6 separate regions of the Homo sapiens genome follow, and all the other regions are linked to region 6. The links are contacts of gene promoters, found by promoter capture Hi-C in human tissues and cell types (Jung and others, 2019). All regions are on one chromosome and are shown on one strand. Each heading gives the region's core, a stretch centred on a gene start or on the middle of the fragment in contact. The rest is flanking DNA. Distances are from core to core; before and after follow the strand shown.

Region 1 (3,516 bases), core at 367-2,866, 340 kb before region 6:
AACTAGAAAGTTTGAGTCTTGATCCATTAATCCAGAGCTAATAAATGTCTGGTGGCAATTTGCCAGTTTGAACTCACAAGTGCGAGCTTATTCATTATGAGGAAGTAGCGATCTCTGTGGGGAAATGCTTGCAAACAGGATTAGCGAAGCAAAGGGAGGGCAAAGCCTTTGGTGAAAAATGTGCCCATTGCTAATCAATGGCCAACAGCTTCTTGCTGCAACGAGTTGCAAAAAGCAATCGTAGCTCAGTGATTTTTTGTGTGTGTTCATTTGCCAAAGCAAGAAGTGAACTTTGTGGACTGGCTGAGTCAGGATTTCCAAAACTCTTTCATGGGAGTGTTCCTGACACCAATAGCCAGTAAGCTTGAGTCTCTGGAGGTTCAGAAACAAAATTTAAAAGCTCAAAATGTAGTCAAAGCCTCCTGTTTATTCTTTAATATTCATGTAAATTTAGCATCTTATTCCACAATATCCATTTGCTTTCATATAAAAAGCATAGGTTTCCCCCTATTTCCATGCAATTCCTTGAGCCCCAGCCCACAGACCAGTTCCCTCCAGAGCTTCATGTGCTCCACTTTGAGAGAAAGGGACTGGCTTCACTCTAAGTGGTGTCTCAATGATCACATCAGTGGTGGTTTCTTACTCAGATCTATAGGCTTATTGATTCCAGAAGGAATTACACCAGCAGGTACTGCACTGTAAAGTCTCAGTATCAAAGACAGACAGTTTGGATCCTGGATTACATTCATGTATCTTGGGACCTGAGGCTGTTTAATTTCTCCAAGGCTCAGTTTCCTCATCTGCATGGAGCTATCTACTTCATAGGCTGTGATGAGGATTAGGTCAGGTCAGGTGTGTAAAGTGATCAGCACCATAGGTGCAACATAAATGTTTCTTATCATTATACTGGTGGTATTGCCAGACACCTGGAAGGTTCCTGCCTTTGTGTGGTAAAGAGAATCATGGAAATGGAGTCTGAAGTCCTGTGTCTTCATTCTTGATTCTGCCATTAGTTAGCAATATAGTCTGAAATGAATGCTTTTAAGCTAAAATCTACCTTCTTCTTCTTCTAAAATACACAGTTTTCCAATGGTTAACTATTTAAGGGACTTTAGTGCATAGAAGAAACAAGGAAACAGTATGAATAAACCTACAGTCTGAGCTTTTTCTCCCTCTACAGCAACATAGAACAATAATAATAAATGACATTATTGAGCCCACCACACGCCAGGCATTAGCTACATGCTTTACCTGCAATCCTCTGTCTAACTCTCATAAACTATATAGTAAGAGAATAAGAAACTTGCCCAGATTGATAAAGCTGAGAGTTGAACCAAGTCTGACTAACTCCAGGACCTGAGCACTTAACCATTATGCCCTGCTAACCTACCCTCCAAATGAGCCAAAGACCTGCCTATCTACTAATTCAGAGGGAAAGGAACCTATTTGGGAATTCTCTCTAGAGGCCCTTTAAGATTCCTGGCTGCTCCTAGCTACAGTTGACCAAGCACAGGCTGAGGCTGATTGCAGATTTAGTAACTAGTGATGTCAGAGAAGGGGTAGCACTGAAGTTCTAGGCCCACCCTTCCTTCTGAGGGGCCAACAGGTCTAAGATGCTGTGGGGTTAGAGTTACAATGACTAGGATTTGAATTCCAGCTTAACTGACAATCAGCTCTATGATCCTCTGCAAGTTACTTAATCTCTCTGAGAGGACACATAAAGTTTTATCATAAATAAAATAAAATTATAATCTCTACATTGCAAAGATTGCTGGGAAGAATAACAGAGATTGTATAAAGTGTCTAACAGAGAATGTGGCTAATAATTAGAGCTATTATAATTCATTATCATTTTTATAAAGGCAAAAATCTTTCAAAAAGGAAACCAAAATACATTTTCAGAAGTCACATTATATAAAATGTAAAATCTCAAATACCCTGTTATGTCTCTCTAGAACATTAAGCAAATACGAGCAATTGTCAAATAATTCACAAGTGATCTCTCTCTAAAAGATTTTACCTCTTTCTAAACAAAAGCTTCCTTGAAGTGGCTAAATTCTGACAGAGAGCAGAAATCTATGTGAGTTAGCAGACCAATCTCCTGGGAGCATTAAAATGATTCTTGAATAATTTTCAAGCCTAATTCTATTTGCACTTTCCACTTTTCTAAAACCAAATCAAAATTCATTGGCAAACAAAGAGCATCTTGCGAGGATCTCATGATTTCTCATGTGAAATTTCATCATGCATAGCAAGCAGCAAAGGAAGGTGGGTTTAAAAGACACATGTTCAAATTCCTGATGATTTGTCTGTTCCTGCTGAGAAAGATGGACCAAGGAGAGTCAATCATCAGGCCTCATGGATTTGAGCCCATAAGCTCCTAATTGACCGGCATGTATTTAATCGGGAAGAATCGCTATAGAATTCCTGAAGACAAAAGGAAGGGGGTATGAACCCCACTTGGAGTACAGGACAATGTGCTGGTTCCTGCTCCCTCAGGGGGCAGTATTCATGGCTGAATCCTGAAAGTCAGGAAGAAGGACTAATTCAAGGACAACCCCATGGGGTTCCTAGTCTGTGCTCTCCTCCTCCCATGCAGCCTGACAGTGTTGCACCATAGTTTCCTGGCAGAGCCAGAAGAGTGGGGAAGAAGTTGGGAGGGAGGTGGAGGTGGCACTCAGGTGGCTATACTGATCCTGACAGCAGCTACCATGCCTAGTGGTCCTACCTGATTGAAGCTTTGGGTATCCCATGCTAGAGAAGGCCTCTACTGTTATTAGTCAATTAGCCAATTTAACCAAAACAAGGACTAGACTGGTACTTCTCAAGGACTTGTATCCACTTACCAATACACATTGCTCCTAGAAAGCTGATGTAGAAGGTGCTATAGGTATACAGAAATTAAGAGCTCAGACTCCAGAGCCAGGCCACTTCTCTGCTGGGCCACCTAAGACAAGTTACTTAACCATTCTGCCTTACTTTCTCCATCATGAAAGGTGGAACAAACAATCATAGTATCCATCTCATGGGGTTGTGATGACAACTAAGTGAGTGACTACATGTAAGGTAGACCAATGCCTCACACATAGTAAGTGCTCAATACACATTATTATTCTAAACCACGCACCCGTTTGTCATATAGTTACACAGCTTGCTTAGAGCTCCCTAATTGCTTTCAGGTTCTCATTCAAATTTCATGACAACCCAGAGAGGCCTGGCAGGAACCATTATCCCCACTTTACAGATGGAAAACCTATGGCTCAAAGAACTTATATGATTTATCCAAGGCCAAGATTATGAACCTCATAATTATAAGAGGGGGCAACTGAAACCAGGGGTTTGGGTTTCAAGTTTACATATAACACAGCTTACGTAGAATTTTGGCTAAAATGTTTAATTAAATTGAAACAAATACTTCCATTTTAACCCTGCATCCCCCTATGTATCCAGCTGGAGATCATTCACCCGACGTGTAGGCTCACAGGGCAGCACGGGGTTTTTAGCACTCAGCTGATC
Region 2 (3,685 bases), core at 605-3,104, 470 kb before region 6:
AAATAGTAACTTTAATTTATTAAAAGGAGAGCCCATATGACATTTTGATAGACTGTTCAGCAAACTAATATGTCTGTTGTTTAAAGTCCATGAGAGACTTTTGGGTAGAACACACTTTCTGATGACCCAAGGTGTTGATTCTTGAAGAGTTCATTGCTATGAGCATTTCAGAAAGATCGGAGTCCAGTAATCATAATAGGATTTAAACCATCGTCTTAGTAAATCATCCTTCCACTAAAGTACACCCTTCCTGCTTGAAAAGGCTCCAGTGAGTTACAACCAGGATTACCAGGCTTGCACTGATGAAAAGACTACAGTCTATGAAATGTGAGATAATTATATCGAAGAGATGTAGGAAACAGTCTTCCTATAGGCCAGTAGAGTGGCTGCCTCATCTCTAATTATTATACCACGAGCAACTGAGCATACTAACCTGCCTGCCTTCAGTCATTGACTGTGTTTAAAACAATTGGAAAGTTACAATAAGGCTGAAATGTCATAAATTCTTGAGTGTTGTCTTCTACAGTTCATCCGCTATACTTTCTAGTTGACCTAGTCAGATGTTTGAATAGTTTATTTTCTGGTAAATTTTTATCAAACTAAAAACTAGAAGAACAAAGCCAGAGTCAAGATGCCGGTGCCTAAATAAGACACAGCATCTACAGAAGGCCTGTTGTCCTTTAAAAGTATGATGCCTAAACCCCATCATGGAATCTACATGTTTATGCCCATTTGCTTTTGACAACTGATCGTTAGTGTTGGCATTTATTTGAAAAAGAGTTTGGAGTTTGAAGAGAGTGCAAGAAAGTTTTCAGTTCAACCTTACAGAAGTTAAAAGAAACACATTTGGGGTTACTAGGGAGAAAATTTCCAAGAAGTCAGTGAAAAACGCTGAGAAATCCATGTTATGAACCCTGATGTGTTTTGGTCTGCTCTGGAATGAAGTTTTCATTGGCAGTTGGAAAAACGTCCACTTGCACATGAAGTATTTTCGTCCTTAACCTCACTGAGCCAAGTAGATGGATGAATGTTTGCAAACATTCCTTTCCATGTTACTCTTTATCTAGGGGTACCCAACATTGGAAGCACAAGGTGTGTATGAATGTATGATTGGAGGAAGATCTTTACTGAGTAGGACCATGGAAAACCCCACTGGCTCCAAGCTTTTTAGACTGAGGTACACATTAGAAGAGTCCTCTCTCCCCAGCTACCACCTATACCAGTCTGCTTCTCCTACTCCAGCCATCATGACCTCTCACCCAGGCACAAACCCTTCAATCCTAGGAGAGTCTCTCCAACCCTGTCCTCTGGAATTACATTGCTAGTACATTCTAGGATAGCAAATATAATCTAGTTACCATAATAATGGTGTTTGTAAAGAGTTAAAGATGTAAACGTACTCTTTCAGGGATATATCTCTTCTATTTATGAAGGGGTGCTTCTCCTTGCAAGTTTCCAATATTATTTTAAGGCATATTAAATTTTATCACTAAATCAACTAGAAATAAAATGTGTAATTGGTAGCAGAATTTCAGGCTGTGATAGAATTCCCAAAGGATTCCAATGTCCTTTCAAAAATTAAATACAGTAATGGAAGATAAACTGTGTAAAATGCCAGCACTTTTCTTCCCCATAACCTGTGTTTATGTACTAAGTCAAGAGGTCCTACTGCCAATCATATCTAGGAAAGAAATAGTACAGAGAGTGCTTTTGATATCACTCATGCATTTATTAGATCCCCTGTTTTTCCGATTTTGAGTTTGATGTGAATTCACTGCACATACATACCTACATAAAATATACCTATCTTCACTCATTATGATGTAAGTAAAGTGTTGGTAAACCAGGAAATACTGGATAGATTAAAACATAAAATTATTAATTTCATGAAATATGAAATAGTACATTTAATAAATAGTACATTTGATGCATTTTGCAACTAGGTCTGAGGTAATATGTGTATCTCACATTTCTTTACTTTGAAAAATGACCAAAAACCTTATTTGATATGAATATTTTATTTTTTTCCTAAAATACATTTCTAATGTGCTCTCATTTCGGTGTTCCAATATGATGGGGGGAATTTTTTACTTCTCTTTTTTTTTCAAAGGACTATAATTTAAACCTCCCCTGCCCAGTTTCAGAGAAATATTTATGGCTGGATTTTAAATGTCTGAACAAAGACCTTTAAAAGGAAATTTCTACTGCAAAAAAAAATCCATTGATACCAGAGCATAAATACCAGTATTATGATAATGAGAAGAGTGTTCGATTTCCAAGAAAGACCAATATAGTAACTACTCTTCCCTCCCATGAAAATGTTGACAGAGGTAAATATGGGATAATTCCAAATCTAAACCTCAAGATAAATTAATTTCTTTATTCATGTAAACAAAATGATTGGGCAAAAAGCAACTGTTTCAGTGCAGGAAATGTTTTCCTCCAGAAATCGGGAAAGCACAGAGAAAATCTAGAATTTTGTTATACACATGAACATTTTCAAAAATATCATAAAGGACAATTCCCTTGGGACACTGGGCCCAGGATTTGACAATCTCCCTGACAGCTACCTGGTAGGAAAATGAGGTTGACCTCCATGATGTCAACTTCCTAAGATATTATTTCTACTCTATGTATCACAAATTTCCTTAAGAACGAGCTTGAAAAAAAAAAAAAGCAGCTCCAATTCTAACCTCTGTGGTTATGCCCATATATCTTGAAAGCTATTTATTAGTTTCACACATATACCATTCTTAAGGTCCATAGATTTGCTACCCACTGAAGAAAGTAGCATGTCTTTTATGTGCCCAACATGACTTTTGTAAGGCTTCACAGGGCTTTCATAGTTTCAGTGACACTTAAACCTAAGCACTCAGCTCAAACGTTTCTTGAAACAGATTATTTTCCTACACAGACTGGAAGCATGTTGTGTTCTTCGTAAATTTAGAGTTCCTCCTCACCCAGTCCCATATTTTCCAGAATTACCTCTCAGACAGTTTTCTCTCCAGTACACACACCCAACACATACAACACTCATATGTGTACTCTGAAAAGTTCCATTCTTCATTGAAATAGGGGCCAGGACAAGGGAAAGAGCTAACATGCGTTGTCCATCTTCTAGGTGCTAAGCATAATGCCAAGTGCATTATGTATCCTATGTCATTTTATGCTCACAACGGTACTATAGAGTGGGAATAGGGATTCTTAGCGCTACTTCCAAGTTATGAAGCAAAGGCTTGAGCACTTCATCCAAATTCCACAGCTATAGGTAAATGAAGCCAGGATAGAAACCTAGGCCTGTTGAATATTCAATTTCTCCACAGGACCACTAACTTTAAGGAGAGGAAAACAGAAAGTCTCCCTCCTTGACCTCTTTTCTACTATGCCTTCTTCTTCCTGCCTCTTCAGAAGCACTGTCATATGCAACCACTTTCTTGAAGAGCCTTAATAACTTTTTATATAAACTTGCTTTTTGTAATGTCAACTTTTCAGCCATGTAATATCAATCCTCTCAAATTTTTTATTTGATAGTGACTCCTGTGAATCCTTTGATCATGTCTTAGTCCAATTCTACTATTATTCAGACCCTTTCTGTTATTAATATATAGTCCAAGAAAGTTCACGCTCAGATCCAATTTAAAGCTCAAATCTACATATACCAGAACTGTGGCTCCAAGAAGATGGA
Region 3 (3,663 bases), core at 619-3,118, 430 kb before region 6:
TGCATTGCCCGTTTACTTATCTGTTTCCCCCATTAAGAGTGTAAAATCTATGAGGTTAGAGACCATGTTTATCTTTTGACTATTATATCTCTTAGTAGGAAACATTTGGATTTCCTGGAATCCCCTTTACCATCCCTGGTTTCTCTTCTCTGCCTTCCATATGCTTCTGTTTCTAACAGACTGTGTCTGCAACCCTCTTTGGAGGGCTTGAGTTTATGTTCACCCTTCACCCATGGGACAGCCCTTAGCCAATGACTGATTGGTACTGGAGTACGAAAGTCCAGATCCCTTTTCCATAGGTGGGAACAAATACTGCAGCATAACTTATTTTCCAGCGATCCCCTTCAAGATCAGCTTCAAGCCACCCTCTATGGGTCTTTGCCTGAAATGGCACCCTTGCTTGTCTTCTTCTCCCTTGCTGTTTCCACTGTTCTGTTACAGGTTTCTCCTGGAGGCATTCCTTTACAAATCACTCTCACACAAATCCTTGTCTCAGGGTCTACTTCTGGCAATCTCAACCTAAGCTATGCCCTGAAAAACTAATATAGTATCTGATACAGAGTAGAATCCAGTAACTGTCTGTAAATTAATCAATCACTTATGATAGAATCCAACAAAGTAGCAAGTATATTTATTCCCATCTTATGTATGAGGAAACTGAAGCTAAGGGTAAGTAGAGTAAGCTCTAACCCACACAGCTGGCACTTGGAGATCCAGGAACCAATTCCAGGCACATATATGGCTCCAAACTAAACTTTTCAACAGCACTATGTTCCACCCAGCACTAGTTCGATGTTTTCGGAAATGGCAGAAGGCACCATAACCCTTGGGTATCTACTAGTTCTAAATTCCCTTCTAGTGGTAGCTTCTCCTAGAACCAACATTCACTCAAAAACAGAACCTTCACAGCCCTGGGAAGATATACTGCTTCAATGTGATTTACCAGATGACATTTCTGGAGTTCAATCTTGTTATCAACTATCAGGAAATCTTCAAAGTGTCAAAGCCAAATAAAGATCTATTCCCTAACACAGGCAAGAGGAGGAAAATTTGCAGAAGTGTCCCATGCTATCAGGCATTGCCAAGGAGAAGGAGATAAAAAGTAATAGCCTAATTTTCGTTAAGTGATTGCTCTCATAAAGTAAAAGAGAACTTGTCCTTACCAGGACATTAACCCTGCGTTGCTCAGACAATTAAGGGAAGTCATAAATTAATCCATAATCATGATCCGAAAAGAAAATTTATCTTAGCACAGAGGGTAAGAAAAGAAGAAAATTGTCTTGGAGAGGATACTTCATCTGTTCTATTTTGCAAGACAAGCCATAACCCTCATGCTTTTATGCTTACAACTCTCTTTCTTTTATCCACACCATCCCATCTTATCTTCATCCCTCTTTTTCTCTCTCTGCTTCCCTCTCATCTTTACCTTAATAGCCCCTACCTCAAATCCTTGATCTCAAGATTTAAAAATGAAAACAGTGAATATTCTTTCACAGAAGCTGAAAGAGTATTTTTTTTGGTTTTTAGATTGCTTTAATCTGAAACGTTATTCAAAAAGCTTATCTTTTCACTAAAGACTATAGAGATCCTTCAGAACTGGATGTAAATGAAACTTAGGGAATGAAAACATCAAGATGGTTAAGGGATTGTGACTTGTTATCTTTGACTTTATTGTTGTTTCTCTTATTATTATTAATGATCATATTTAAGCAATAGATATGTGTTTGGAGAGAGAACAAAAGGAGGGAAGGAGGCAGAGGTGAGAATGTACTGACCACCTATGCTGTTCTATACACTGTAAATATATCTTATTGAGTCTTAATCAGAAATTTCTCAGATAGGTATTTTTATCCCCATTTTACAGATGTTGAAACTGAGCATGAAATCTTATTTCTCTTGCAAAGCCAGGATTTAGTTCCACCTCTATTTGTCTCCAAAGACCAGGCTTTGGGCTTTGAGATGAGGAATGACCAAGGAGAAGAGATGGATGATGGACGTAAGAGGCTTAAAAAACACTTACATAAAGCTCCTGTTGTTTTATAGTCCTCTAGTAAATAATAAGTTTGAAAGTGAGATCACTTTTGATTCTCCTTTGGCAGATGATTTTTTTTAACTGAGTTTGGAAGGGAAGAAGATGAGGATAATGGGACAAGGAGTCAGGGCCTTGGAGCAAGAAGAGATGTCTAATATTTTCGGATATGATTCTTCTTTATCATTCTTCCCATCAATCACACAGTCTGCATGCATTGCCTTGAGGGAAGGATGACATAGCGTAAGGAAGATTGTTTTTGGTATTTGAGATTCAAAAGCCAAGCCCTAAGGGAACAATAAGAATTCATGTGAGCATAGATAAGAAATTTAGAAGAATATGAGATAGTAAGTAAGCTTTTGTTCCTAGACGGAATCCTATAGAATAGCAGGAGGAGAGTGGACAGGGTAAGTTACAGAAGTTTGAGAAACTGCCAAGACAGGAGTGGAGCCCACACCCAGAGCCTGCTGTGTGTGTGGGCAGCACTGTCTTCCAACTTACTGCCCAGAGCCTCTAATATCTCCACTCCCAGATCCTCCACAGGGCAAGAGCAGGCAGAATCCTGGAGAGTGAATGATGCAGAAGACTAGCAGTGAGAAAGGGCAAGATGAGAAATAGGGTTAGAATCAGAGGAGGCTCGGTGGCCTGCATTCCTTCTTGTCATCAGTTTATCTGCTCTCTTTAGGGTCACTACAAAACAGACATATACAGAGCGCCAGCAAAATTTTCCAAAGCCAAACTCAATTTTTCAAAAATAAATGAAATTCATGTTGAATTTGTTGCTTCTGGTGTTTTTAAACCAACCTAAACCAACCACTTACAAAGTAGGATAGCTTTACAAAGAGGGCAAGGTGACTTTATAAAGTGTTTCTAGCTTCCTGGCTTCCCATAAAACTGCAGAAAATACAAAGCGTCTCTACAGAGCTTTAGAGAAATTCTCAGTGGAAGATTTGATATTAAATTTCTTCACCGAGTCAACCTACTTGGATTTCTCTTTCATAAGATCCTAATGTTTGAGTTTATTTGGGTTGTGTGTTATTCTTAAATAGTAGCCATCACTTGTTTATAAGCATATAAAAGGCATGTCTCCCCACTTTTTGACAAATATCAAACGAATAGAAAAACTGAAAGAAGAAGAGGGCATGGTATGCCCTTTACTTGTGCTTGTGTGGCCTAATAAAATAACACACCCATAATATTTTAGCAGAGATATTATAATGATCTTAGCATATTGCCTGACATGTTAGTGACTGATTATTACTTCTGGCATTTAGGTAGACTGGTTACCAACAGTATCTGGAGTATATAAAAATATCATGAAATACACAAATGGCATCTTGATGAAAGCATTATCAATATGCCTCAAAAATTGATAGTTCACCCTAAAAATCTACTTCTATAACAACATATGCATAAAGTTATTTATTACAGCATTATGGTAACTTCAAAATATTGGAATTAACCTGTAAACCTCTCACTAGATTTTGGTTGAATAAACCATGGTGCATCTACACAATAGCATATTATATAACCATCCAAAAGGATGAGAATGATCTCTATAAATTGATATGAATATATTATTTGTTAAAAAAGCAAAGCACAGAAGAGTGCATGTATAGTATACTATAACTTTC
Region 4 (3,463 bases), core at 658-3,157, 310 kb before region 6:
TGTCATTGCTCACACTTGGACTAATCCAACGGCAATTCCCTCTGGGCCTGTCTAGCTCATCTGACAAAGTCAAGGTGTATCACTAGCATAATGATTGAACATGTACTCCTCCTGAATCATGCAATAATTCTAGAATTGCTGCTGTCTTAATCCAGAGTATCTATCAATAGTAAGAATTTCAGACCCCATTGTTAGTCAACAGGAATGCAGACTGGACATCCTTCCGCTCCAACATCACAGGACGTTGCCTGTTTTACTATGTGCAGGGGAGGGTTAACTGTAACAGCTAACAGTGCCAGGGGCTGTTCTAAGCACTCGACATGTATTAGTTTTCTAATTTTCATAATGACTCTACAAGATAGGCCCTGTCTTTGCATTTTACAGTAGAAGTGATTGCTCAGGGTTCCACAGCTTGTAAATCTGGGCCAGAAATGTGAACCCTGCGCATCTGGCTCCCAACCCCAGAATCTTACTCATTACCCAACAGCTGCCTCTCACAGACTGTCACACCATAAGGGGCTCCTTCTTGATATTTGTAGCTAGTTTCTAGCAGGATAACAACTGGGAAGCTGCCCTGATTTGGACCCTCCTGTAGTAACTTTTTTTTTAAATTTTGTCAATCACCTAGTTCAGAGATTACTGATTACCTCAATGTCTGTTGCTCTGAACATTCCAAGAACCACAAAAAGAATTTGTTAAGCAGGTTGGAAACAATACCTAGGAGCACTGCACTGTCTCTTCAAAGATCCTCTCTCAGACCCAAGCCTCAGGCTCACCACCTTCTAGGCAAGCTCTACCCTGTTGGTTATCTTATCATAATCTTCAAGAAATCCTGCTAAGAAGTCTCAGGTGTCCATGGTGTCCCTGGTCACACTGGCCAGCCTGGCCTCATGTTCCATACTGGGCACCCTCTAGCCATTAGCAATCTGAAGGGAGCTAGGAATTATGCCCATGTTTTCTGTAAGAAATGTATGAATGTGGCTGTTAAACGATTATCTTCAGGGAAAGAGAAACAAATATATTTATCTAATAGAACTGGTTCTTAAATTTCAGTGACCATTGGAACCACCTGAGGCACTTATTAGAATCACAGACCCACCTCACTTCCATCCCCTCCTAGAAAATTCTGACTTGATAGGGCCCAGGGATTCACATTGTTAAAAGACAGTCCACTGACGTTACTTCCAGGACAGCTGCTCTGTCGTTTATCCTGATTTCCATTTCAGCACTTGCCCCTGACTACTGAGTCTGTGTCCCTGGGCTCAGAACAGACTAAAATACACACACACATGTATACACACACACACACACACACACACACACACACACACACACACACGCACAAAATAAAAAAAAATAAAAAAAAAAATTTTGAAACTCTTACTTGTTCTTAACACATTATCTACTTCAAACCTCCAAGGCCAGAGAGGGTAAGTGATTCTCTCAAGTAGATCTTAAACCATATCTTTCATGTTTTACTTCTTTCCTCTAACACATACTACCTCCCTTCTCTAAGGTATTCTGAATAAGGAATAATAAAACATGTATTTTTGCATATATAAAGATAACATTTATTGAAAAGTTAGAAAATTCTGTAAAAGCCTGGCCACACTTTTACAGGATCAAAAGAATCACAGATTTTTAAAATAAATATATAATCCAGAGGTAATAAAAGTATCTATTTGGTGTCTTAACATTAGCCATCCTGATTCCTATGCTAATTTCTTACCTTGTGTAGGAGGACACTAAAAAAAAAAAAAAATCTGTATGTGCCTCAGTTTATCTTTCATCAATACAATACACAGGAGCATTGTAATCTAAAGATTATAATCAGCATTCAAAAAACTCAAAATAGAAACATATTTTCACCTTCAACAAATAATTATGTATGAAAATCAAAAGTTTTCAGGAAAGGTCATTGAAGTGATTCTTTTTTCTCATTACAAAAATATTAACCACAACTCCTTGAAGAAGCTTCCCTAAAGTATGTCAAGTATGATGTATCTTATGGAAACGTTTCTTTAAAGCAGCCATTCCCAAGGTTGTATTTTATATTATGGCTAAGTGGAAAGCAAATGTATTCCTCTTGGCAATTTTAGCAAAAAAAAAAAAAAAAAAAAAAAAAAAAAAACAAGTCACAGAGGTTATCATTATGTAACATCAAATACTTGGATAAAAACTAGAGAAATTCAGCCATGTATCCAAATAGTTGGTATAAACTATACTAACATGTAATAGTTAAAAGGAATTTGCTAATTCATTTGTTTCATTTAGATTGAAGCAGCAATAACTAACATGCTTATCATGAACAAAGCACAGTGCTAGAAAATTTGGTATTGGGCATATGCAGCAATTAAAGGCCAACCAAGTGTCAAACATTTCTAGGTTTGGTACATAGATGGGGAAGGAAGAAAACGGGAGTAGAAAAATTTGTACCTAGAAACTATTATGGTACCAGAACTAGAAATACATAATTAATGCTTAAGAATTACAATGATGAGAACTATATCAAATGACTGAAGGAGAGACCAATGCATTACTAAATAAAGAATTTTCTAGTTTGTTTTTATTTTTATTTTGTTGTTGTTGTTGTTGTTGTTGTTGTTGTTTTGTAAGATGGAGTTTAGCTCTTGTCACCCATGCTGGAGGGGAATGGCGTGATCTCGGCTCACTGCAATTTTCGCCTCCTGGGCTCAAGCCATTCTCCTGCCTCAGCATCTTGAGTAGCTGGGATTACAGGTGCCCATCACCACGCCCATCTAATTTTTGTATTTTTAGTACAGACGGGGTTTCACCATGTTGGTCAGGCTAGTCTCAAATTCCTGACCTCAGGGGATCCACCCCCCTCAGCCTCCCAAGGTGCTGAGATTACACGCGTGAGCCACCACGCCCAGCCCAATTTTCTAGTTACCATTGCTTTGCAGACAAAATGCAGATAGGCCCATCCAGGAGTTTAGAATCTCTCAATAGGTCTCAAAGCCTTCTTAGCTCATTGCTTACCAATCTCCTGCATAGCCTCCTTGTCCTAATTCTTCCATCACCTTCCCCCTTCATCATCCTCCTCATTCATCCATTTATCATTCAGTCCCTGTAAGAGATCTTAATGTTTGGAAGAAACCAGCTTTGTAAAGGAAGAGTAGAAATCCCCTGTGTAGGGCAATGCTGTCAGTTAAAAACAAAACAGATTTCATTATTTAAAAAACAATCAAAGTTTTAAAGTTGTTTCAATAAAGTTATAAATTATGACCATTATAATCACTGGGATTTTTATTTTGCTGTGTCTCTTGACCTCAAAAAAAAGTTTTAAGGAAGATAAGATTTATTTGGTCAAAACATTTGACATTTACTTCATTACTCAGTGCACTAAATTCTCTCTAAATAAATTCCATAGTGATCTGACTTTCCCCATGAAAATCTGCACAGTGAACTCCTAGTTTATTATGCCTACTTGAAAAGGGTAATT
Region 5 (3,762 bases), core at 209-2,708, 450 kb after region 6:
GGAAATGACAGCCTTATCTGGGCCTGCTAAGTGATGGCATCCTGGCCACAGCCTCTTTCCTTTGTTCACACAAGAAACATCTGTACATATGTAATTAGAATAATCTATACTAGAAAGATAAAAGGGTAATGGAAGGTGACAAATCAGAGCCTTTCAAGTATATATAGTTTCACTATTTGTATTTTAAAATATTTTAAAATTGATTTTGCTGAAAGATAGCATTTCCCTCAAACACACAGACAAAAACAAATATCCATTGTGCCTGTTTTTTCAGTATTTTGAGGAATTATATGCAGATGACCCTAAGAAGTATCAATCATATCGGATTTCCCTTTACAAACGGATGATTGTATGTAAAACCATAGTGCTTTTCTGCTGTCTTCCCTTGCTACTTATAGCCCTCTGTAACTGAAGAGCACACTGCTGCCTGCCCCCTCCCAGGAAGTCTCTTCAAAATTTTCACGAAACCTGTTTCTCCCCACAGCTGTCTTTTAGCCAGTGGTGTCACCTCTGTCAGTGTCCTGAGTCCATTGTCACGTTTGGTTTGTTATTAACACTAGGCTTACAGTGTGATGGAAGCAAAATGTGATTTGAAAGGTCACGTAAAATCCAAGAAGTACAACTTAACACTTTGAAGAGATAGCAACTGTTCCCTTTAATGGTTGGCCTAGTAGCTAAATCTACTCCTGTCTAAACTGGAAAATGAATATTTGTATTTGGAATGCCTTTCTTCTCCATAACCTGAATAACAGACCACACACATTGCTGACTCATAGCCCTTCTAAGCTGTTACTGAGCCTACTGTTGTCCACTTTCTTTTTGATTGAGTTTTTAACCATGTCTGTCATTTGAGCAAATTCTTTATTAAATAGCCAATAATCATGGACTTTTTTTTACCTTCCTCCTTAAGTGTACTGCTTTTGTTTCTGTTTTTGCATAAAGCATTCATAAATACCCCTTTCTTCTGTATAAGCAAAATTATATCACCTGCAAGATTTTATAGATGCCTTATGCCACTTGCCACTTTGGTCCTAGGTAAGCAGACCACTCTTTATCCTGTTCTTTGTGATTATTTTTTTCAACTTATCTTTTAATTCCCAAAACTTCTGAACTATTCTTAAGTTTCAGGGCTAATTTTAGAATTTCATAGGGTGGCTCTCATAGAGACAGTGCTTCACACATGGGGAGTGTCAGTTCCTACCTAAGTTCAACCATTCTTTCCACAAACCTTTTTGTGCATTCATCAAAATTTATTTTTGCCTAGTCAGTCCTCCTTTAAAAGAAAGCATTCTACTGGAATACCAATACATTCTACAAAGCATTCAGTTGATTTTCCCACATGGAGTCTACTGGAAAGACTCTGCAGTGAGCCTGCTGTCCATCACGCTGTAAAGGAGTTTACTGCGTTGTATATTTTAACATATGGCTTTTATTGTAGCTGCATTTCCCATGCCTGCCAATTTTAGCCAGGTGGTGGCTCCACCAATGAGCTCTTATGTAAAACTAACGTGTTGTTTCTGTGATATTGTGTCTATTTTCCTTTGATGCATTTTAGAAGGCCTGTTTCGATTTTTCTAATATATTTCTCTTTTTGATCTTTAGGATTTGATGGAACAACTTGAAAAACAGGATAAGACGGTCCGTAAACTGAAAAAACAACTGAAAGTATTTGCCAAAAAAATTGGCGAACTAGAAGGTATTTAAACCTTTTTTTCAAGACGGTCACTGAGTCTTGGTTTGAGTCTTGGCTTAAAGACTAGGCTATATAAGTGGCCTAATAGAGGTTTGCATGCAAATATTAGGGATAATAACAAAATATGACTTTTGGCAAACCTAACCTCTTTTGAGTAGAAATTTACATTTTTAAATGAGGAAAAATGTTCTTTTCATGGGTAGTAATAATTTACAGATTTTACTCTGTAAGCATCTAATGAATATCTTCTATATGCCAGACAATGTGCTAGGCAGTATAGCATAGGAGTTAAGAATGTGGATTCTGGAGTCAAGCTTCTTGGGTTCAAATCTTAGCTCTTCTACTTATTAATCATATGATATTGGGCAAGTTTCTGAACCTCTGTATGCCTGTGCTTTCCCATCTGTTAAATTAGAAAGATAATAGCATCTATCTGACATGGTTTATAAGGATTGAATGAGCTATTAGGTTGGTCCAAAGGCAATTACTTTTAATGGCAGGAACTGCAAATGCCTTTGCATCAACCTAATAAGTATATTACACTTAGAAAAGTTACTGACGCATAGTAAAAATGCTTCATGCGACTTAGTTATTAGTCACTATCATTATTCTTAGTATTAGGGATACTAAGATGAGTATGATAGAGTCTGTCCTCAAAGAACTTACAGTCTAATGGAGGAAAAATAGAGAAGTAAAAAAGAAAAATATGAATTATGATGATAAAGAAATAAGATTTTTAAAAACATCTCATGATTTCTATATGATGATGATGAAAAAATTCCTTGAGAAATAACCAAATATCAGTTGTTGTTATTATTTATATACAAATGGATCTTATCTTTTCTATTAGTGTGTTTATGTGTTTATTTGTTAAGAGTTATAGGTACAGGGATCTAGCAGTGAACAAGGCTAAAGCCAAACTCCTTTTTTTTTTTTTTTTTTTTTTTTTGGAGACAGAGTCTTGCTCTGTCGCTGAGGCTGGAGTGCAGTGGTGCAATCTCGGCTCACTGCAACCTCTGCTTCCCGGGTTCAAGCAATTCTCCTGCCTCAGCCTCCTGAGTAGCTGGGATTACAGGTGCATGCCACCATGTCCAGCTAATTTTTGTATTTTTAGTAGAGACGGGGTTTCACCATGTTGGCCAGGCTGATCTCGAACTCCTGAGCTCGTGATCCATCTGCCTCAGCCTCCCAAAGTGCTGGGTATAGGCGTGAGCCACCGCTTCCAGCCTAAAGCCAAATTTTAAGCTTATTTCAATGTTCTCACTGCTTAAGGGATTTTGAGACAGTCTTTGGAATAGCCTTCAAACCTGTGTGAACGGTTAATCATTTTCTCTCATTGTCATTCTGCATCTAATTCTTGCTTGGTTCAAACAGTGAAGATTCCCCATCACTGAGGATGTTCAAAAGAATCTATCATGATTAACTCCAAGTGTGGTTTTCATTCCTCCAACATGCCAGGTCTTGTCATAACTGCTCCTTCTGTTTGGTCATCCTGCTTCTCCTGGTTAAGTCCTGCTCAGCCTTTGAGACCAGAGTCATATGTCACATCCTCAAGAGTAGCCTTTCCTGATTACCCAGACAGACGTTATGGTTCTGCTCTCTGTGTACCACAATTTGGCCGACATCTTTTATGGTCTTCACTATGTCATATTTTTAGCAATTTTTCTGTTTGAATTACTGGCTTCCATAATAGACTCTGAGCTTCCTGAGCATAGAAAACATCTCTGTTTCCCTTTGCTTTCACAGCACCTAGCATAGTGTCTGACCTATCTCATAATCATTCCATAAATGTTTGTTGAGTGAATGAGTAAGTTTCAGAAATATTTATAACATGGCAACATGGACATTTACTTTGTAAAGGATATTACTCTGTTGGATGTACAAATACTGAAATATTTGTTTAGAAATCAGAAAGATTATTTTATAGTCACACTTTATATATAATCCTTTAGCATTACATGAGTCATATATTACATTAAAATTTGAGCCTCCACATCACACACTCACACACACATGAGCTATAATGTCTATTAGCAGAACTTAAAAATCTTTATTCAGAGAACTTTTTG
Region 6 (3,776 bases), core at 1,270-3,769:
ACATACAATATTTTAATGTTTTAGAAAAAAATCAAAAATTACTGAGCAAGCCAACACATATGGTGCTTCTCCAGGTCTTTTCGTTGGCTCCTTCTTTAGGGACCAACACAGAGCCAGCCCCCCTTTTCATAAATGCCCTTGGGGGAGAGGGGAAGTTGAGCTCACCTGATGCCAGCCTTATTCAGGTGGACTCCAGAGGCTCAGCTGAGTGCCTCTCATGAAGGAGGGTTTCCAAGATCAAGTTCCTAATTAGCTACACAAAGAGAAAACCATGAACAATTTGTGCACTTGGTGGTATTTACTTCTTTCTTTCTTTTAACAAACTGCCTTTTGGGAAGATAGTTGTCATAAGGGCAAATCAATCACTTCAGCGGGATTAAAATATTGGGGCGGGGGCGGGGGGACAACTGTTTAGCTGAAAGACTCCCTGCTACTTTAACCCATTGTTTGGTCTCATGCTGTAGGAAATGAGAATGGAAACAATTAAAAACCAAAGATGCAGCTTTCCACCAAGGTACTGTAATATACTAGGCAGGAAATATATGTTTTGTGCTTGTGTGTATGCGTGTATGAATAGGTAGATATAGATACAAGTTTAAAGAGTTAATCGTGTTTTCTGAGTTCCTTTACATCAGTGTATTTTCCCTAAAATATCTTTTCTTCTCTGGGGGTTCCTAAATTCCTAACTGTTCATTATGAAAGTAGACATGAAATCCATTGAGATGAATTATTTGCAGGGCCTCCATATGCATTGTTTGGACAGGATGGGAGTGCCTCTGGTGATAAAACCAGCTAGATTAACCAGTCCCAGGACATGGCCGCCTTCAAGGAAGTCACGTTGACTGTATCCACTGAACTTGACCTACCTGGATTAGGATGTTGCCCTGGTGGTAGCAGGGACCTGGGCAAAGAGATAGGCCTACTCATGCCTGGGCCGGTGGGAACTTTTCCCAAAGGGTTGGCCAGCCCAAACTTTTGCCTTGGAAACCCAACTACCACCACTACCACAGCCTTGGCCTCTCTAAGGGCTTGGGAGCATTTGCAGTGGAAACACCACGGGTGGGCTGCAGTTCGGTGCCCCAGCAAGCAAACCTACAGTCTGAGTCTGGCCCAGCACAGGCTACACACACTTTATTCCATATCTGAGTCCAGATACCCCGGCTCTGAGAGGCTATTCTCATTGTAACCACCGCTTGCCTGGGGCTGAGGCTCGGCGCTGACCCGGCCATAACTGCCACGGGCTGGACAATGGGCACATCTGTCCTTTCTCTGAGGGATGAAAGCACCTAAGCGGACACGGCTCTGCCTTTTGTTGCGGATTTTTTTTCTTTCTTTTGTAAATGAAAGAAAGCCGCGGCATGTGGCGGCCGGGTGTACGTCTCAAACTGGGGGCCTCCGCACACGTCCCCACCAGGCCCAAAGACCAGGTTCGATTCCAGATTGGAGCGTGACTGTGGGAAGGGCGAAATTACTCCCGAAGCTGAATTGATTTTCAAATCTGGAGGCGTCTCTCGGGGACGCCGGGAAAAGGGCGTCCCTAGGGGCCAAGCGGAGACCCGCGCGCCGGCGTCCACCCTGTCTGCGTCAGTACTTCTGGAAAGCAACCGCCTCCGGGTGCTTTAGCAGGAGGGCCTTGGGAGTAACCGCAGGGACGGCCCGAGCCTCCACGGCCCCACCAGCACCCGGAAGTTAACATGGGTACCCTCCAGGGCACTCCCTCCGCTCTCCCTCGCCCCCCTCCACAGGCCGAGTCATCGGCGAAGCGGACGCACAGCCTTAATTATGAGCTGAGCGGGAGAAGGAGCCAGGCGGCGGGGGACAGTGAGGTATGGCCCGAACTGGGATTCTTGGCACTGATTACTCCTCTCCCCAGGGCATGGATGAGAAAGGGTGGGCAAGTATGTATCTGGGAGGACGAAGGGTGCCGGGTCAACGGCCGCCAAACGGACCCAGCCCTTTAAGCAATCTGCACCCCACCCCACCCCAACCCCCATCCCCCAATAGGCCGTGAATTCAAGGGTGGGAAAGCGCACTCCCAGCAGCCCCCCGGGAAATAAAGCTTAGTGGGCTAGAGCCGAAGGGGTGATGACACAGTCCCCAGCTCCCCGGGCAAGCTGCACCGGGAAGCAGCAACTGGAGAGAGAGGGGCGATGTCTCCAAGCACAGCACTCCAGCCGCTAGAAGCCCGACACGAGCGTCCCCGGGCTGGGAGGACAGAGCCCACTCAAGCAAGGGAGGCGAGCGAGCCAGGCGCGAGTCTCCTGGGATTGCAGCGGCGGCCCCAGGTCGCGCTCTGCGCCAATCTTTCGCACGTGCCCGCAGCTCCCTGGCCATCCAGCGCCGCAGGGAAGGCGCTGGGCCCCCTCCTTCATTTGTACCGGGACGCCAAGGGCCTGGCGCGCCGCGACCTAGGGGGCGGGGGCGGGCCTCGCGCATGCGCGCTGCGCCTGGCGGGCGTGAGGGCGGGCCGCTGCGGCGGCGGCGGCGGCGGCTACCGAACCGCGGCCACAGAGTCTGTAACAGTAACAGAGCCATGGCTCAAGCTGGCCAGCGGGGCGGGCAGGCAGCAGACGCGGCAGGCGCGCGGGCCGCGGCAGGGGAGCCGGAGACCTCAGAATTTTAAGAAAGAGAGGGGCGAGAGGTGGCCGAGGCGGGCGGGCTGGGGCACTGCGCTCTCCCAACGGCGCGGATCCTCTTTGGAAATTAATATTAAAAAAAAAAAAGCCGAGGACGCAGAGGGGAAGGTGGGGGGTAAGAGGGAAGGCGAGACACACACACACACACACACGCACACGCACACACGGACACACACACACGGAGAGAGAGAGAGAGAGAGACAGAGCCCCACAGTGAGAGGAAGGAAGGCAACAGTCGCCAGCAGCCGATGTGAAGACCGGACTCCGTGCGCCCCTCGCCGCCTCTGCCTGGCCACATCGATGTTGTGTCCGCCGCCTGCTCGCCCGGATCACGATGAACGCGCAGCTGACCATGGAAGCGATCGGCGAGCTGCACGGGGTGAGCCATGAGCCGGTGCCCGCCCCTGCCGACCTGCTGGGCGGCAGCCCCCACGCGCGCAGCTCCGTGGCGCACCGCGGCAGCCACCTGCCCCCCGCGCACCCGCGCTCCATGGGCATGGCGTCCCTGCTGGACGGCGGCAGCGGCGGCGGAGATTACCACCACCACCACCGGGCCCCTGAGCACAGCCTGGCCGGCCCCCTGCATCCCACCATGACCATGGCCTGCGAGACTCCCCCAGGTATGAGCATGCCCACCACCTACACCACCTTGACCCCTCTGCAGCCGCTGCCTCCCATCTCCACAGTCTCGGACAAGTTCCCCCACCATCACCACCACCACCATCACCACCACCACCCGCACCACCACCAGCGCCTGGCGGGCAACGTGAGCGGTAGCTTCACGCTCATGCGGGATGAGCGCGGGCTGGCCTCCATGAATAACCTCTATACCCCCTACCACAAGGACGTGGCCGGCATGGGCCAGAGCCTCTCGCCCCTCTCCAGCTCCGGTCTGGGCAGCATCCACAACTCCCAGCAAGGGCTCCCCCACTATGCCCACCCGGGGGCCGCCATGCCCACCGACAAGATGCTCACCCCCAACGGCTTCGAAGCCCACCACCCGGCCATGCTCGGCCGCCACGGGGAGCAGCACCTCACGCCCACCTCGGCCGGCATGGTGCCCATCAACGGCCTTCCTCCGCACCATCCCCACGCCCACCTGAACGCCCAGGGCCACGGGCAACTCCTGGGCACAGCCCG

What was found. The method cuts DNA at HindIII sites, captures the fragments that hold promoters and counts their contacts. A contact is called where the count stands out against the background at its distance.
Region 1: a fragment that was not itself captured here is called in contact with the fragment with the promoter of ONECUT1 in region 6 in 3 of the 25 tissues and cell types used here (H1 embryonic stem cells, dorsolateral prefrontal cortex and mesenchymal stem cells).
Region 2: a fragment that was not itself captured here is called in contact with the fragment with the promoter of ONECUT1 in region 6 in 1 of the 25 tissues and cell types used here (H1 embryonic stem cells).
Region 3: a contact is called between a fragment that was not itself captured here and the fragment with the promoter of ONECUT1 in region 6, in 2 of the 25 tissues and cell types used here (dorsolateral prefrontal cortex and lymphoblastoid cells).
Region 4: a fragment that was not itself captured here is called in contact with the fragment with the promoter of ONECUT1 in region 6 in 2 of the 25 tissues and cell types used here (dorsolateral prefrontal cortex and mesendoderm cells).
Region 5: a fragment that was not itself captured here is called in contact with the fragment with the promoter of ONECUT1 in region 6 in 1 of the 25 tissues and cell types used here (thymus).

The regions. Positions count from the first base shown.
Region 1 is chr15:53,130,207-53,133,722 of GRCh38, reverse strand. The region is part of intron 4 of LOC107983981 (a long non-coding RNA gene); the gene reads right to left. Among named protein-coding and RNA genes, the nearest start is that of LINC02490, 16 kb to the right of the region's middle. The HindIII fragment of the contact is 3,905 bases long and covers 1-3,516 here.
Region 2 is chr15:53,258,787-53,262,471 of GRCh38, reverse strand. No RefSeq gene overlaps it. Among named protein-coding and RNA genes, the nearest start is that of LINC02490, 140 kb to the right of the region's middle. The HindIII fragment of the contact is 4,957 bases long and covers 1-3,685 here.
Region 3 is chr15:53,214,915-53,218,577 of GRCh38, reverse strand. All of the region lies in intron 5 of LOC107983981 (a long non-coding RNA gene), which reads right to left. Among named protein-coding and RNA genes, the nearest start is that of LINC02490, 100 kb to the right of the region's middle. The HindIII fragment of the contact is 5,942 bases long and covers 1-3,663 here.
Region 4 is chr15:53,103,236-53,106,698 of GRCh38, reverse strand. The region is part of intron 4 of LOC107983981 (a long non-coding RNA gene); the gene reads right to left. It overlaps LOC105370823 (a long non-coding RNA gene), which reads right to left. Exons shown (of 4, transcript XR_932261.3): 4 at 2,841-3,162. Among named protein-coding and RNA genes, the nearest start is that of LINC02490, 11 kb to the left of the region's middle. The HindIII fragment of the contact is 3,019 bases long and covers 398-3,416 here.
Region 5 is chr15:52,334,397-52,338,158 of GRCh38, reverse strand. MYO5A (myosin VA) reads left to right here. Exons shown (of 42, transcript NM_001382347.1): 33 at 275-349; 34 at 1,603-1,696. Among named protein-coding and RNA genes, the nearest start is that of MYO5C, 40 kb to the right of the region's middle. The HindIII fragment of the contact is 5,720 bases long and covers 1-3,762 here.
Region 6 is chr15:52,789,079-52,792,854 of GRCh38, reverse strand. ONECUT1 (one cut homeobox 1) reads left to right here and starts at 2,519. Exons shown (of 2, transcript NM_004498.4): 1 at 2,519-3,776. The coding sequence starts at 2,971. LOC105370824 (a long non-coding RNA gene) reads right to left here and starts at 2,425. Exons shown (of 2, transcript XR_001751550.2): 1 at 166-2,425. RefSeq lists enhancers at 696-1,463, 1,464-2,232, 2,229-2,523 and a silencer at 2,412-2,481. The HindIII fragment of the contact is 12,558 bases long and covers 1-3,776 here.